2 separate regions of the Homo sapiens genome follow, and region 2 is linked to region 1. Evidence: promoter capture Hi-C in 16 types of primary human blood cells and fetal thymus (Javierre and others, 2016). All regions are on one chromosome and are shown on one strand. Each heading gives the region's core, a stretch centred on a gene start or on the middle of the fragment in contact. The rest is flanking DNA. Distances are from core to core; before and after follow the strand shown. Region 1 holds the start of MIR17HG (miR-17-92a-1 cluster host gene). Region 2 holds the start of RAB20 (RAB20, member RAS oncogene family).

Evidence for each region. Contacts are between HindIII fragments. The CHiCAGO score rates a contact against its expected background, and 5 or more counts as called.
Region 2: the fragment with the promoter of RAB20 here is called in contact with the fragment with the promoter of MIR17HG in region 1 in 1 of 17 cell types (non-activated CD4 T cells); the score reaches 5.0 in non-activated CD4 T cells.

What each region holds. Positions count from the first base shown.
Region 1 is chr13:91,343,711-91,349,979 of GRCh38, forward strand. It overlaps MIR17HG (miR-17-92a-1 cluster host gene), which reads left to right and starts at 3,977. Exons shown (of 3, transcript NR_197388.1): 1 at 3,977-4,249; 2 at 5,988-6,060. RefSeq lists enhancers at 3,466-3,545, 5,015-5,562, 5,563-6,110 and silencers at 3,646-4,425, 4,476-5,465. The HindIII fragment of the contact is 6,871 bases long and covers 2,157-6,269 here.
Region 2 is chr13:110,556,172-110,562,971 of GRCh38, forward strand. It overlaps RAB20 (RAB20, member RAS oncogene family), which reads right to left and starts at 5,551. Exons shown (of 2, transcript NM_017817.3): 1 at 5,177-5,551. The coding sequence starts at 5,348. RefSeq lists enhancers at 1,223-1,746, 1,747-2,269 and silencers at 5,111-5,170, 5,150-5,339, 5,231-5,680. The HindIII fragment of the contact is 2,254 bases long and covers 3,855-6,108 here.

The DNA of each region.
Region 1 (6,269 bases), core at 2,727-5,226:
AATTAATAACATACATATGCAATAGAGATAAAAACAGGCACAAACATTTATCAAGATTAATCAGCTAATAGTAATGATTAATCAAACATTTTTATTTCATTCAAGAACTAAGTACCAGAGCTTGTCAGTCGTGATTCATATAAGTATGACCAGGGAATTTTTTGAAAAGGATTTTGGCCCCACTTCTTACCACCTAAATTAGAATATCTGCAAGTAAGGGTCACACATTTGCATGTTTCAAAGGCTCTTGGTTGATTGTAAAGTACAGCTGGGCTGGGAACCACTGAGTTAAGAACAAGAAATTGAAAATAAGCCATTTCCAATTTTGATGTTTCATTCTTCTAGTGAAAACAAATGAAAAACTAGTGAAACACTTTACCACGATGTACCATAACAATATATTGCCTTTAAATGTTTAAATTCAAAATGTATTAGTTTTATAAAAGCCATACCACTTTACATATACTGATAGACATCAATGCATAGCAAACTTCCTTAAGGGTAGAGACTGTATCCTCTTTATTGTGACAAATAATACCTATTCTGTCTATTTTTCTTAATTAAATAATAATTATACCCATCTGGTTCTACAGAGTACCACAGTAACAACTTCAAAGATATGAAAACAGAGTAATTTTTTCAAATTGCTTCTTTATTCAAAACCACACACGTTCATTTTTCCCTCTATAATTTATAATTTCTTAATTCCAAAACCTTAAGTCTATCAGGTTAAATGATTATGGTCTTTGTGTTCACTATAAATTTATTGTCATTAGTAGCATCTTGGAATGTCATTTGTAGTGAATAATTCATATATTCATGTTATGCAGGATTATCTACTACCATAAACAAAATGCAGATGTTCTAAATTCTAAATTAAGGATGTAAAATAACCTGCCATCAGAATAACAGTTGGATTAGACATTGGAACAAGTAAAAAAAAAAAAAGGTTGAAGACATGAAATCTTCAGCTTATTTGTGAAAGATTCGTGGTAATCAATAATATTCTGGAGTTCCTAAACTTTTCATGGACACGGGTTCTGTCTTATCCCTCCTTATATCTTTGACCAGTGCAAGCATAGCAGACACATAATACATAATTGCTAAAGTGGACCGAACAGTTTCAATGGAAAACATAATTAATATGGGAGGACTAGACTGTGTCTTTTCAGACATTTATAGATATATATTGTAAAAAAAATCCCAAATTTCATCATTGAATGTGTGTTATTGATTACTGTTTGCTACATTACAAGAGTCCAAAATGTTCTCAGTTTATAACCAGTTCACTTTCTGAACTCAACGTGGTGTTTAAATTTGTATTCCTTTTCCGTAAAATACAAATGCTGTGGGAAAATAATACATACTTATAGGCATCTATGTTAAAAATGCCAATTCGCAAAAATATGAAATATACTTAATTGCTTAGCCAATTTTTAGACCCTCTGAATTACTATTTAAATTATATATAAATACAGGTTTAAAATAACACTAGAAGTTGTCTTTAACTTAGATTCTTGCATCATTCCTATGTTTTCACATCTATAATGTGAATGTGATTATTGTTTTATTAGTTTCTTAAATTCTATAATTATGCTAAAACACAACATTTTAACTGAATTTATCTTTCAAAAATTCAACACATTTAACTCAGTTGATACTGACATAGTTAAACAATAAAAGGTAGGAAATAAAATCCTCAATATTATTTACAAGGTCAATAACTTTTCAGATCTTCTTAATTCATAACATCTATAAGACCGAAACACATGGGTAAAAAGTAAAAAATACAGATATTCTCTATTACTTTCTATATATCATGTAAACTGAGGGCTATATAGAACTGCTCTGACGTTGAACTGAGCTTTTCATTTTATCTAAAACGTTCTGAATGTTCTGGATTGTGTAAAACAGTACTGTGTTTTAGCTGACTTGAGAAGGCTGTGTGTCTCACTTTGGCATTTCAGATTGCTTTATTTTTACATTCCTTGGTTGCAGAAGGCATTTGTTAGCAGTTCACATATTTTTGTGATCTTCAAAATTATAACCACAAAAATCTTCCCTTTAGTTATCAAGTATACCCAAGTGTGGCCCCTAAAATCAGGGAAGATAGGTTTCTCACTAGTAGTGACTTCCAAAAAACATCAAGTTGGCTAAGCTTCAAATTCATTTGGGATTAAAACGTTTTCAATTATTCTAATTATACTTAAGATAATTTATTAATTTTGAAAGGAAGTATGAGCGAAACCCTTAAAATGCAACCTACTAATTCTGAAACTTTCTGGAATTTCCAAGTCAGTAGGTTTAAATGAATTTGCGTCTTCCAAAATCCTGATTACCATAAAAAAGGGTATACATTAAGAATTATTTCTTATACTGTAGTCACAGAAAATAGTTGCTTGTATGTCAGATTTCCACAGAAATATAGTGAGATACCTAAAAACAGCTTTTTAAAGCTAGTAGTATTTCAATGTTGACTTTAATTGGAAGGAAACTATGAGATGAATAACTCCTGCTAAGAAACCTGTATATAGGTGGGATTTCCCATGATTCAGAGAGTGTGATGAACAATCTTACTCACAACATCCCCCCGCCTCAACCATTCTAATTTGAAACAGAAGATAAAGTTTTAAAGAAAAAGGCATTGACATATTAGTCAATGCCGACCAAAAGTAACGTAAAATTAGACTTGTAATAAAATTAGCAGTGTTTTCCTCTTTGAAACGTTCATAAATGACTATATTACAGAAATATTAGATATTGTAAAATTTCAGATTTGGCCTTTTATTTTGATTTACAAAGAAAGGAATATCTAGAAACTAGACTCAATAAAAAAAAGAGTAGCAAAACTTTAATCCACTATTTTTTATGTCATCACTAGTTTGACAATTGGATTTAAGCAAAGCATGATAAAATAAGTCAAAGACAGTAAATGACAATACTGTCAAGGTTTGAATGTCAAAAATTTTAACATTGGGGCATTAAAGACATCCTTTGGTAATGTGTGTTTTACAGTTGACTTGTACAATCACGAACCAGTGATATGTGCTTTGCAGTAGCTACTTACTAGATTTAAACCAATTTATAATTGCTGTATTTCTCGTAAATGTTATGAATCCTCACTTTTAACAATTATGTTTCTGAGAATTCCGGAATTTCCTGAACCACAATGTGAAGAAGGAGGTGCTCCTGATTGGGCTTCTTTTCTCAGCTTTGTGGTTGTTTATGAGGTTCTTTCCGAGCTATGCTATTTCTACTGGAGAACCCAGAGTTCTTACTAAATGCAGCTGGGCATGAGAGGGGAGGCTCAGGTACTGCAGCTGTGAAACCTCTGCTCGGGCATGCGTTTTGGTTTACACGCGGCCAGGTTAAGGAAACACATTGCCACGAAGTGTGCATTCACAAGAGTGTCGGGTGTAATGTATTTATTTCTGGGTCTCAAACGATCTTTGCAGCGAGTAATTCTGTTTCGATGTTAAAGTCACTGGATTTTACTTCTCTGGTTCCGGTTGGCCTGGAGCAGGCCCCTAATTACCTCGGAAACCCACCAAGGGCCGGTAAAGTAATAAACTGTGATCGCACAGCGTACACGTCGAGTCCCAGGGAGAGCAGGGCTCCCAGGAAGCCCCGGGAAGCGTGCGCTTCCAGGAGGGTGTGCGGCGCGCGGGGGTCTGCACGCGCGCAGAGCTTGTTAACGGAGGGCGTGCCGGAGGCGTGGCGCGAGGTGTTCGGGCGAGGCGCTCCGCGAGGCTGGCGGCGGTGGGCGGGCCACGGGGGAGCGCGGCCCGGGGAAGGCTGCGCGGCGCCGCCAGCGGCTCCCGGCTCCCGCTCTCCCGGCCGCCAAGAACGAGCCGCCGTGGGCGGGGCCTGCGGTGATTGGCGGGCGGGCGGGGAGGTCGGAAGTACTTTGTTTTTTATGCTAATGAGGGAGTGGGGCTTGTCCGTATTTACGTTGAGGCGGGAGCCGCCGCCCTTCATTCACCCACATGGTCCTTCGAGGTGCCGCCGCCGCCGCCCGACCTGCGCCTTCGCGCCACTTCGCGCCCTCGGGCGAGGCCGAGGGGGTGGGGACGACTACCGCAGCGCCGCCGGGGCTCGCGCTCCTCCGCGAAGCTCTCCTCGCGGGGCGGGCCGGCCGGCCGCACCCCCGGCCTGGGGCCTCCGGTCGTAGTAAAGCGCAGGCGGGCGGGGAGGCGGGAGCAGGAGCCCGCGGCCGGCCAGCCGAAGATGGTGGCGGCTACTCCTCCTGGTGAGTCTGCCCGCCCCTCCGGCGACGGAGGGAAACCTGTTGTGTGCGGCCCGGGTCTGGCGGGCGGGGCGGAGCGGCCCGGGGCGGACTGGCCCGGGGCAGCGTGGCGGCGGCGGCGTGGCCGGGGCGGGTCTCGGCCGTTGGCCGCCCCGGCGTGTGGCAGCCGCATCTGGCTGCCCCCTCGCTCGCCCGCGGGCCGGCGGAGGGGGGCAGGGCCGGGGCGGGAGGGTGGGAGGGGGCGGCGTGCGCGTGGCGGCCGCGCCCGGGACCCGCGCAGACCCTGCCTGGGCCGACCCGAAGGCGGGTGGGCGGACGGCGAACACAATGGCCCCTCGGGGAGAGGACGTGCGAGGCCCGTGCCTTCTCCGGGGCCCGGGGCGCGCGCGGGGCGTGGGGTCTCTGGGTAGGAAAGTTTCTCCCGAGGGCGAGAGTTAAAGCGCCTCCAGAACAAAGCGGCGGCGGCGGCGGCACATGGGGCAGGCCGCGGGCCGGGAGGGGGCGCGCCCACGAGGTACCTGCGCGCCAGCGGGCGGCGTGGCGTGGGCGGGAGCCCGCGGTTCCCCAAACTTTGTACGCGCGAGGGTGGGCGGAGGGGCGCCGAGATCGGCGCGGCCTGGGCGCCACCCCCGCTCCGCGTGGGCTTTGTTAGCCCGCGTGGGCAGCCTCGGGGCGGGGCCCGCAACTTCCCCGCCGTGGCCCTCGGAGGAGGCCGCAGTCGGCCTCAGCCGCGGCGTGGAGCCGCCTGCGCCCGGCCGCTTGCTGGGAGTGTGGCGCGGGAGGGCCAGCCCGGCTCGGCGGGAGCGGCGTCCCCGCCGCCATGTTCCTGCGGGGCGGGCTGCACGGGGGTGAGGGCGGGGGACATGGCGGCGACTGCGCGCCGCCGCCGATTGTTCCCGGCTTAGGCCTCGGGCCGCGTGCGACGGGCACCGCGGCCGCGGAGCCCCCGCCCCTCTGGGCCGGGCTCGGGGGGGCTGGGGGACACAAAGGAGGGGCGGCGCGCCCGCGTCCCCGCCGCACTCGGGCCTCGGCGCCGCCGGTCGCCGCGCGGCTGCCGCCGGGAAACGGGTTGGGGGGGTTGCCGCGTCCGGCGGGGCCTGACTCTGACCCGCCGCCCCCTGGCGGCTACGCGGAGAATCGCAGGGCCGCGCTCCCCCTTGTGCGACATGTGCTGCCGGCCCGGGCTCCATGAGCGTGGCGGGCACTTTGCAGTCTCGGGTGTTCCTGCCCGGTCTTCTGTTCCTAAACTGCAGCAAAGGGAAAAGGAACTGAAAAAGGCAGGCTCGTCGTTGCAATATCACCAAAAGAGAAAATTAACGGCATGCCATCAGGACCACAGCAGTTGGAGAAACAACTCTTTATCCCGGCTTGCAGCCACGAGGTCTTGATTGGGGGAGGGGTGGTGAAGAATAGTCTGTGGGCTGCTTTTTTTTTTTCCTTTTACTGGAGCTGTACAGTGGAGTCGGTGATTGCTGCTGATCATAATCAAGTATTTTAGGAGCTTATTTAGACATGTATCTGATAGCTAAGGATTTTTCAACTTTATTCTCTTACGTATTTTTCAACTGTAAATTATTGGGCTTTTAAATCCTGCTAGTATTGCTCGACTCTTACTCTCACAAATGGATGGAATTAATTGCTGTTAGGAGGTTGGAAAATAGCAAATATAGATTTGGACGGTGGTAGTAATTTTGAGCAAATAATGTTTTATCTTTTTTTTCCTTATTTTTCCCTATTCCAGTCATACACGTGGACCTAACTGCACCAGTAGCTTTTCTGAGAATACTTGCTGAAAAGGAAGTTTTCTGGAATGGGTAAGTGTATTCTGATTTTCTTGAACTTTTCTTAAAAACAAATTTTTCTTGCTATTAAAGTTGAATAAATAGGATTGGTTTCTTAGAGAGTAAAAGTAGGTGTTTCTTTCTTTAGACAATGTACCTTTTCTGAAAAACTAACTCATTAAGTACGGATTTGCTAATTTTAAGGTAGTAAAATTACAGTGTAAATATTCCTGTACATTTTT
Region 2 (6,800 bases), core at 4,301-6,800, about 19 Mb after region 1:
TGCCCTCATCACATGGGTGAGGGACGCTGAGCCTGCCAGTCAACCACCCTGAAAACAAGGGCCAGGATGGATCCCACAAAATCACAGGGGTCCTTTAAACCCTTAGAAGAGGGAAGCAGAGGGGCTGGTTCAGAGGGATGCTGTGTAGGACAGACCTGACCTGACTGCCTTTTCGGAGAGAGGATAAAACCAGGAAATCAGGCAGGCTCCAGAAGCTAGGAAAGTCTAAGAAACAGGTTCCTCCCTTCAGCCTCCAGAAAGGAATGCAATCCTGCAAGCTTTGACTTTAGCCCAGTGAGAGACTCATTTGGGACTTCTGACCTCCAGACTACTTAAAGACAATATATCTATGGTTTTAATTTTTATTTATTTATTCATTTGAGACAGGGTCTTACTCTGTTGCCCAGGCTGGAGTGCAGTGGTATGATCATGGCTCACTGCAGCCTCAACCTCCCAGGCTCAAGAAATCCTCTTACCTCAGCCTCCCAAGTAGCTGGGACTACAGGTGCGCACCACTACACCTGGCTAACTTCTTTATTCTTTGTAGAAACCGTCTCCCTGTGTTGCCCAGGCTGGTCTTGAACTCCTAGGTTCAGGTGATCCTTTCACTTCAGCCTCCTAAAATGCTGGGATTACAGGCAGGAGCTACCATGCCCAGCAAATTTGTGTTGTTTTAAGTAACTAATTTGTTATAGCAGCAATAGGAAACTGACACAGACTTTGGAACTGGGAGCAGAGAGAGGCTGTCACGAATATGGAAGTGGCTTTAGAACTGGGCAATGGCAGATCTGGGAGGATCTGAGGATCATGAGAGGGCAGCCCGGATTGGCCTAAACAGATGGTTGGCAGGAAGGTGCACATGAACAGCCCTGCTGGTGAGGAATCAGAAGGAAGCGAGAAGCATAGCAGAGAAAACCTGCATCCTCGTAGTGAACACCTCCACCAGAAGGAGCCAATTACAGGTGGAAGCCTGGGGTCTGAATGAGGACTGTGTTATCAGAAGCTGGAGGAGGGAGGATGTGGTGCCAGAGAGCTCAGCTGAGTCGTGCCCCACAGCTGTGAGGGAAGCATCACTGTGTGATGAAGTTGGATATGTAGCTGAGGAGATTTCCAAGCAAAGTGTTGAAGGTGTGGATTTTTCTTGCTGTTTATATTAAGATGAGGAAGAACAGATAGGATGAGGGAAGAATTGTCGAACAAAGAGGAGCAGGACTTGGTGATGTGGGAAGTCCTCAGTCAGGCAGATTGCTGGGAGGCTCACACTAGGAGGCCCACCATCCGGAACGCCTGTGCTGGAGAGGAGGCCCTGGTGTGGCCACATAACCTTCTGCTGGTGCCTCAGAAGGACCCAAAGGCCAGAGGACTCTCAAGAGACCAAGATGTCTCATCTTTGCGGTGGCCACTATTCTGTCTGTCACAGCCTGGCTTCAGGCTCCCACAGACGTGCATCCATTCCACATGCAAAATGCACTCACTCTCTCCAACACCCAGTCCCCAGAGACGCAGCTGGAGCTGGATGCCGGCACAGGGAAGTGGCGCAAGTCTGGGCTCCCCGCCGCCTTCCAAGCTGGCTCTTCAAGGGCCAGGTGCTGGGGATGCAAACGTGAGTCAGGTAATGCCCCTGCTCCCCCCGCCTCCCGGCCGCCAGGCCACGGCCTTTAGAAGGGAAGGAAAACAAATGTGGAGAGCATTCTGTCTCCAGGGCTCTGGGGACCAGGTCTGTGCTGGGCACACCAGCCGCTTTCTCATCAGCCTGTCGTATTTTCTTCAGAGCAACGATCAGATGTGAAGCTGTACCATTCACTTCTTGCCTGCCTTTCCCCCTCCTCTGGAATCCAGGGCCTGCGGGGCAGCGGCCAGCCGGCCTGCTCACTGCTGTAGAACGAGGGCCCAAACAGTGCCCGGCACCGGGGAGCCTCAGTTTATATTTGCCAACAACAGGCAACACCACTTTAGGCTGTCCTGAGCAACCGGGCAACACAGAGGAGCACAGCAGTACGTCTTCTAGGGCTCTGCCTCCTCGCTGGGCAACCTCCTTTTGCTTCCTGGATGTACCCACCCATGCACAGCAACCACTCCACATCTGTGTGCCCAATTAGACAAGGGCTGGGAGTGGCAAGTGCCCCCTAAAAGGGCATAATGAGACAAGGTGAGTTGGAGTTGGATGAACCAAGGTCTAAATCCCACTTAACTTCTGCTGTCTTCCCACTTTTTTTTTTTTTTTTTTTTGAGACAGAGTCTTACTCTTGTCACCCAGGCTGGAGTGCAATGGCGCAATCTTGGCTCACTGCAACCTCCGCCTCCAGGGTTCAAGCGATTCTCCTGCCACAGCCTCCCAAGTAGCTAGGATTACAGGCGCCAGCCACCACACCCAGCTAATTTTTGTATTTTTAGTAGACACGGGTTCACCACATTAACCAGGCTGGTCTTGAACTCCTGACCTTAGGTGATCTGCCCGCCTCACCCTCCTAAAGTGCTGGGATTACAGGCATGAGCCACCGCGCAGCCCTGTCTTCCCATCTGTTTTTTTTTTTTTTTTTTTTTTTGAGACAGAGTCTCGCTCTGTCACCGGGTTGGAGTGCAGTGGCACAATCTTGGCTCACTGCAACCTCTGCCTCCTGGTTCAAGCGATTCTCCTGCCTCAGCCTCCCGAGTAGCTGGGACTACAGGTGTGCGCCACCACGCCCTGCTAACTTTTGTATGTTTAGTAGAGATGGGGTTTCACCATGTTAGCCAGGATGGTCTTGATCTCTTGACCTCGTGATCCACCCACCTCAGCCTCCCAAAGTGCTGGGATTACAGGCATGAGCCACCACGCCTGGCCCCATCTTTAACATGCAAATAATCACACCTCCCTCTGGAGGACTGTTGTGTCAATGGAATAGGGTAATGTACTTCTGCCCTGCCAACTCTCTTCCCCCTCTTCAGCTCCATCCACTGCCTGCCTTGCAGGCTACAAGCAGCCAGGCATTGGGTGTACACTGACCCCCATGCAATCGTTTTTACTATTAAACATCCTGTCGCCCTCTGCACACCTGCACCCCCACCCCAGCCCACCCTGCCTTGTGTGGCTAAAAGCAACTTTCAAAATGGTTCCTCCTCCGGCTGGTCCTTACCATTCTGCCTCGGTTATGACAATTACAACAAAAACAACTTGAAAAGCAATGTCTGTGGGGTGGAGAGAAAGTTTAGGAGCTCAGCAAAAGAAGGAAAAGAACAGGGTCCCCTAAATGTTAAATTCTGAATTTCCAACAATTATAGAAAAGGTATCTGTTCCTACCTCTCTTTTCCCTTCAAGTACCCGGTCAGGCCACAGGCCACCGAGGAGGCAGGCAAGGGTGCCCTGTGTCCCTGCCAACTCTGGGCAAGGGCCGCCTGAGTGTGTACACAGGAAGTCAGGAATGTGGAGAAGGGGCCTGGCCACTCTCTGTTCTGAGGAGCTCTAGTAATTCACCCTTAGGATCTTTCGAACAAGCAGCAGCAGCCTCGGATGCCAGGAAATGAGCTGCTGCCCCCCAGTAACGCTTCAAGACATCTGGGGCGTCACATCAGCACAACTGCAAAATCTCTGGTGATCAGGATTCCGGCTGCATCACGTCCTTGGTGCTGAAGAAGCAAGAGGCCAGTGGAAACGAAACTGCTGCTTCATTCCCTCCGATGCAGGGGCCGTTCCAGCACTGCAGGGCAGCTCTTGTTCCAGAAACACACCGTGTGTTAAGAGTCTGCCTCCAACGGTGGCCACTACAGGGGTTTCGGTTAGGGTCCCCCAATAACACTCCTGCATTAACCTTGCTACTTGTAAACCAAGGGCAGCAGTAAATCCCAGCCAACCAGCAAAAGCAGCAGAGGGGCAAAGCTTTGTACAAAACCAAATTGGGTTCAATTTGACTTTGTACAGAAGCAAATTGGGTTCGTGAATTGGGTTCGATTTGACTTCTAGAGCGTGTGTTCCATCGTTACCAAATGCTCAGTGTGAGGGAGTCAGCTCAGTAAACCTCATCCTGCAGCCTGAGGCAGAAGACAGAGTTGGAGCAAAGATCAGGGAAATGCACCTCTTTACCTGGGGGACATTGTTTTCACAAGATGATTGCCAATAAATTAGTCACGATGTTAACTGGGATAATAATAAAAAAGCATCAAAGAAGGCAAAAGGGAGGGGGAGAACTGGAAGTACCTCTGTGAGCTTCGTTAATTCAGTTTTAAAGAGAGAATTCATTATCATCTTGTTTATTCAGCATACTGATACACCCAAGATGGCAATTTAAGAATTCTGGACGGGGCCTTTGGGTATATGACTTTTTAAGATGCTAACATAAAAGAAGTCAGAACTTTCAGAGTTTCAGGCTTCTAAAAACTCACACTCATTGAAAATGTGTCACACTATTTCCAGTTTCTTCATTCACTTACAATATCTTATTCTTTTGTAAGGAGAAGGAAATATATTCCATTGCAATGCTACAATCACCAGTGTTATTTTCCAAAGTTAAACAGAAAGCCTGAATTGAGATCCTCTAAGTTGTACTTTTGAAAAGTCACAAATACTACACAATAAAAATAACTCATTACCTATCTTAAAAATGCTTCCACCGGAAGTCACTCCAACCCAAACCCATATGACGTATCTGAGCCAAGATCAAGCAGAAGATTAACTGTAAAAGGCAGATATGCTCCGGGCTAAGAGGTCCGGAGGCTCCAGTTTTATTTCCTCTCTCCTGACTAAACCCAACAGGGGGGAACACTCTGTGCCTCATTTTACTTTTTCTTAGAAAGGGGCTAATAACACCAGCTCTGCTCACCCCTCAAGTGAATCTCAAAGGATATCATGTTCCTACGGGTACGTGAAAACTGAAAATACCTAACAAAGCAGCCACAGAGGAGCGTCTCTGGTTCCCAGGGCGGCAGAGCAGGAACGCGGGGCTCGGGAGCAAAGGCAGCTTAGGTACACAAATGACCAGCGGGTTCTCTGCAACTTGGGTTGTCCCTGAGGTCACTGAGTGGCTGAGAGGCAGCGCTCAGCCCAACCAGCAAGGGAGGACGAGTGGGAAACCCCGAGAAGGAGGCATTTGCTGTCCGAGGCCGGGACCCTGTGCGCGGCCGGGTGCCCTGCTGGAAGCCCCGCGCCCCCCGTCCCCGGCGGAGCCCCAGGGCGGTGTGGCTCATGCGGCGCCGGCCTCACCTGCGGTGTCCCAGATGGAGATGTTGTAGGAGCGCCACTGCTTCAGGTAGAAGGCGCCGCCCACCGTGCTGACCGTGTCCGGGAAGCGCCGCTCCATATACCGCTGCAGCAGCGACGTCTTCCCCACGTTCATGTCCCCCAGGAGCACGATCTTGCTGTCGGGCTTCCTCATCTTCCCGTAAGAACCCCCAGCGCCCCCGCGCCCTCTCCCCGAGGCTGGCCGGCTCGTGCGCCCTGGGCGCAGCTGGAGGAGCGGACCCCGGACTCGCCGGGACCCGGATTCTCGTGAACGCTCCGGGACCTTCGCCTCCGGACGCCCGGGAGCTCAAGAGAGGAAGCGCGTGTGCGCGCCCGGGAAGGAGCTGGGTGCAGAGCACGGAGCCCACGTCGGGGGCCCGGACCGCGGCGGCCTCGCCTCGCCCCGCCCCCGCCCCCGCCCCCGGGCCCTTTCACCGCCGCGGCCCCGCCCTATCCTCCTCCGCCCACCGCCCCCGTCCCGCCCCTGCTGGACCTCGCCGTTTCGCAAGCATCCGAGTTCTCCAGCCGAGGCTCGGGACTGCTGCAGGGTGGAAAATGAAAGTTCTGAGAGCACCTTCCGCCCCTCCGCTTCTGCACAGCCGGGGCTGCGGTGCGAGGAGCTTGGCCGCGGGGCCCGAACGAGGCGAAGGGGCCGGGGCCCTTGGGGAACCCCCTTCTCTCTTCCACTCTCCCTTAGGTAAAACCCGTGTTCCTCTCACGCTCGACCCAGCGCCTTTCCAGCTGCGGTCGATTTGCTTCTCCGCGTGTAAGTACAGCCACCCTCAAGGTCATTGAAAAAGTTTGCTTTAAATGAGCGTCTGCGGAACTCGTCCTGAGGCTCTCACTGTTACAGATTAGAGATGGGGGCGCTTTCTAGTGGAGGATTTTGCTTTTGCTCTTCTACTTTTGCAAGAAGCTTTTTGTCCTGAAAAGTGGACAGTCATCTCCATTTATAGCTTGGAATGAAAATTTGACTATGGAAGTTGCAGTCGCTACTTGAGAAATATTTCCTCCTTCTTTTTTTTTTTTTTTTTTTATTTTTGACACGGAGTTTTGCTGTTGTTGCCCAAGCTGGAGAGCAGTGCGCGATCTCGGCTCACTGCAACCTCCGCCTTCCGGTTTCAAGCGATTCTCCTGCCTCAGCCTCCCGAGTAGGCGGGATTACAGGTATGTGCCACCATGCCCGGCTAATTTTTGTATTTTTAGTAGACACGGGGTTTCACCATGTTGGCCAGGCTGGTCTCGAACTCCTGACCTCGTGATCCACCCGCTTCGGCCTCCCAGGTCCTCCTTCCGTTTTAAAGGATAAACCTTGAAATGCTTTTAAAATATGCAGCGTGTAGAATTTGGTTAGTTGGTTGGTTGGGGTTTTTTAGAGAAAATGAGAGGTAGAATGGACTCTAAGTTAAACCCTGGGGGACAGTGTCACTCTGGCCGCTGGCCTGGCTGGGAAAGGCGATGAGACCCTGAGCAGGTTAAAACCCGTGTCCTGAAGGTGTCCTGTAAAGGGAAATAGGCCCGTTGCCTCCTTCGTAGGTGCCCTGAGACTCCGACAAGGCAGGAATGCCAAGGTATTTCGTACCTGCTCAGCCCTGGCATGTCAGGT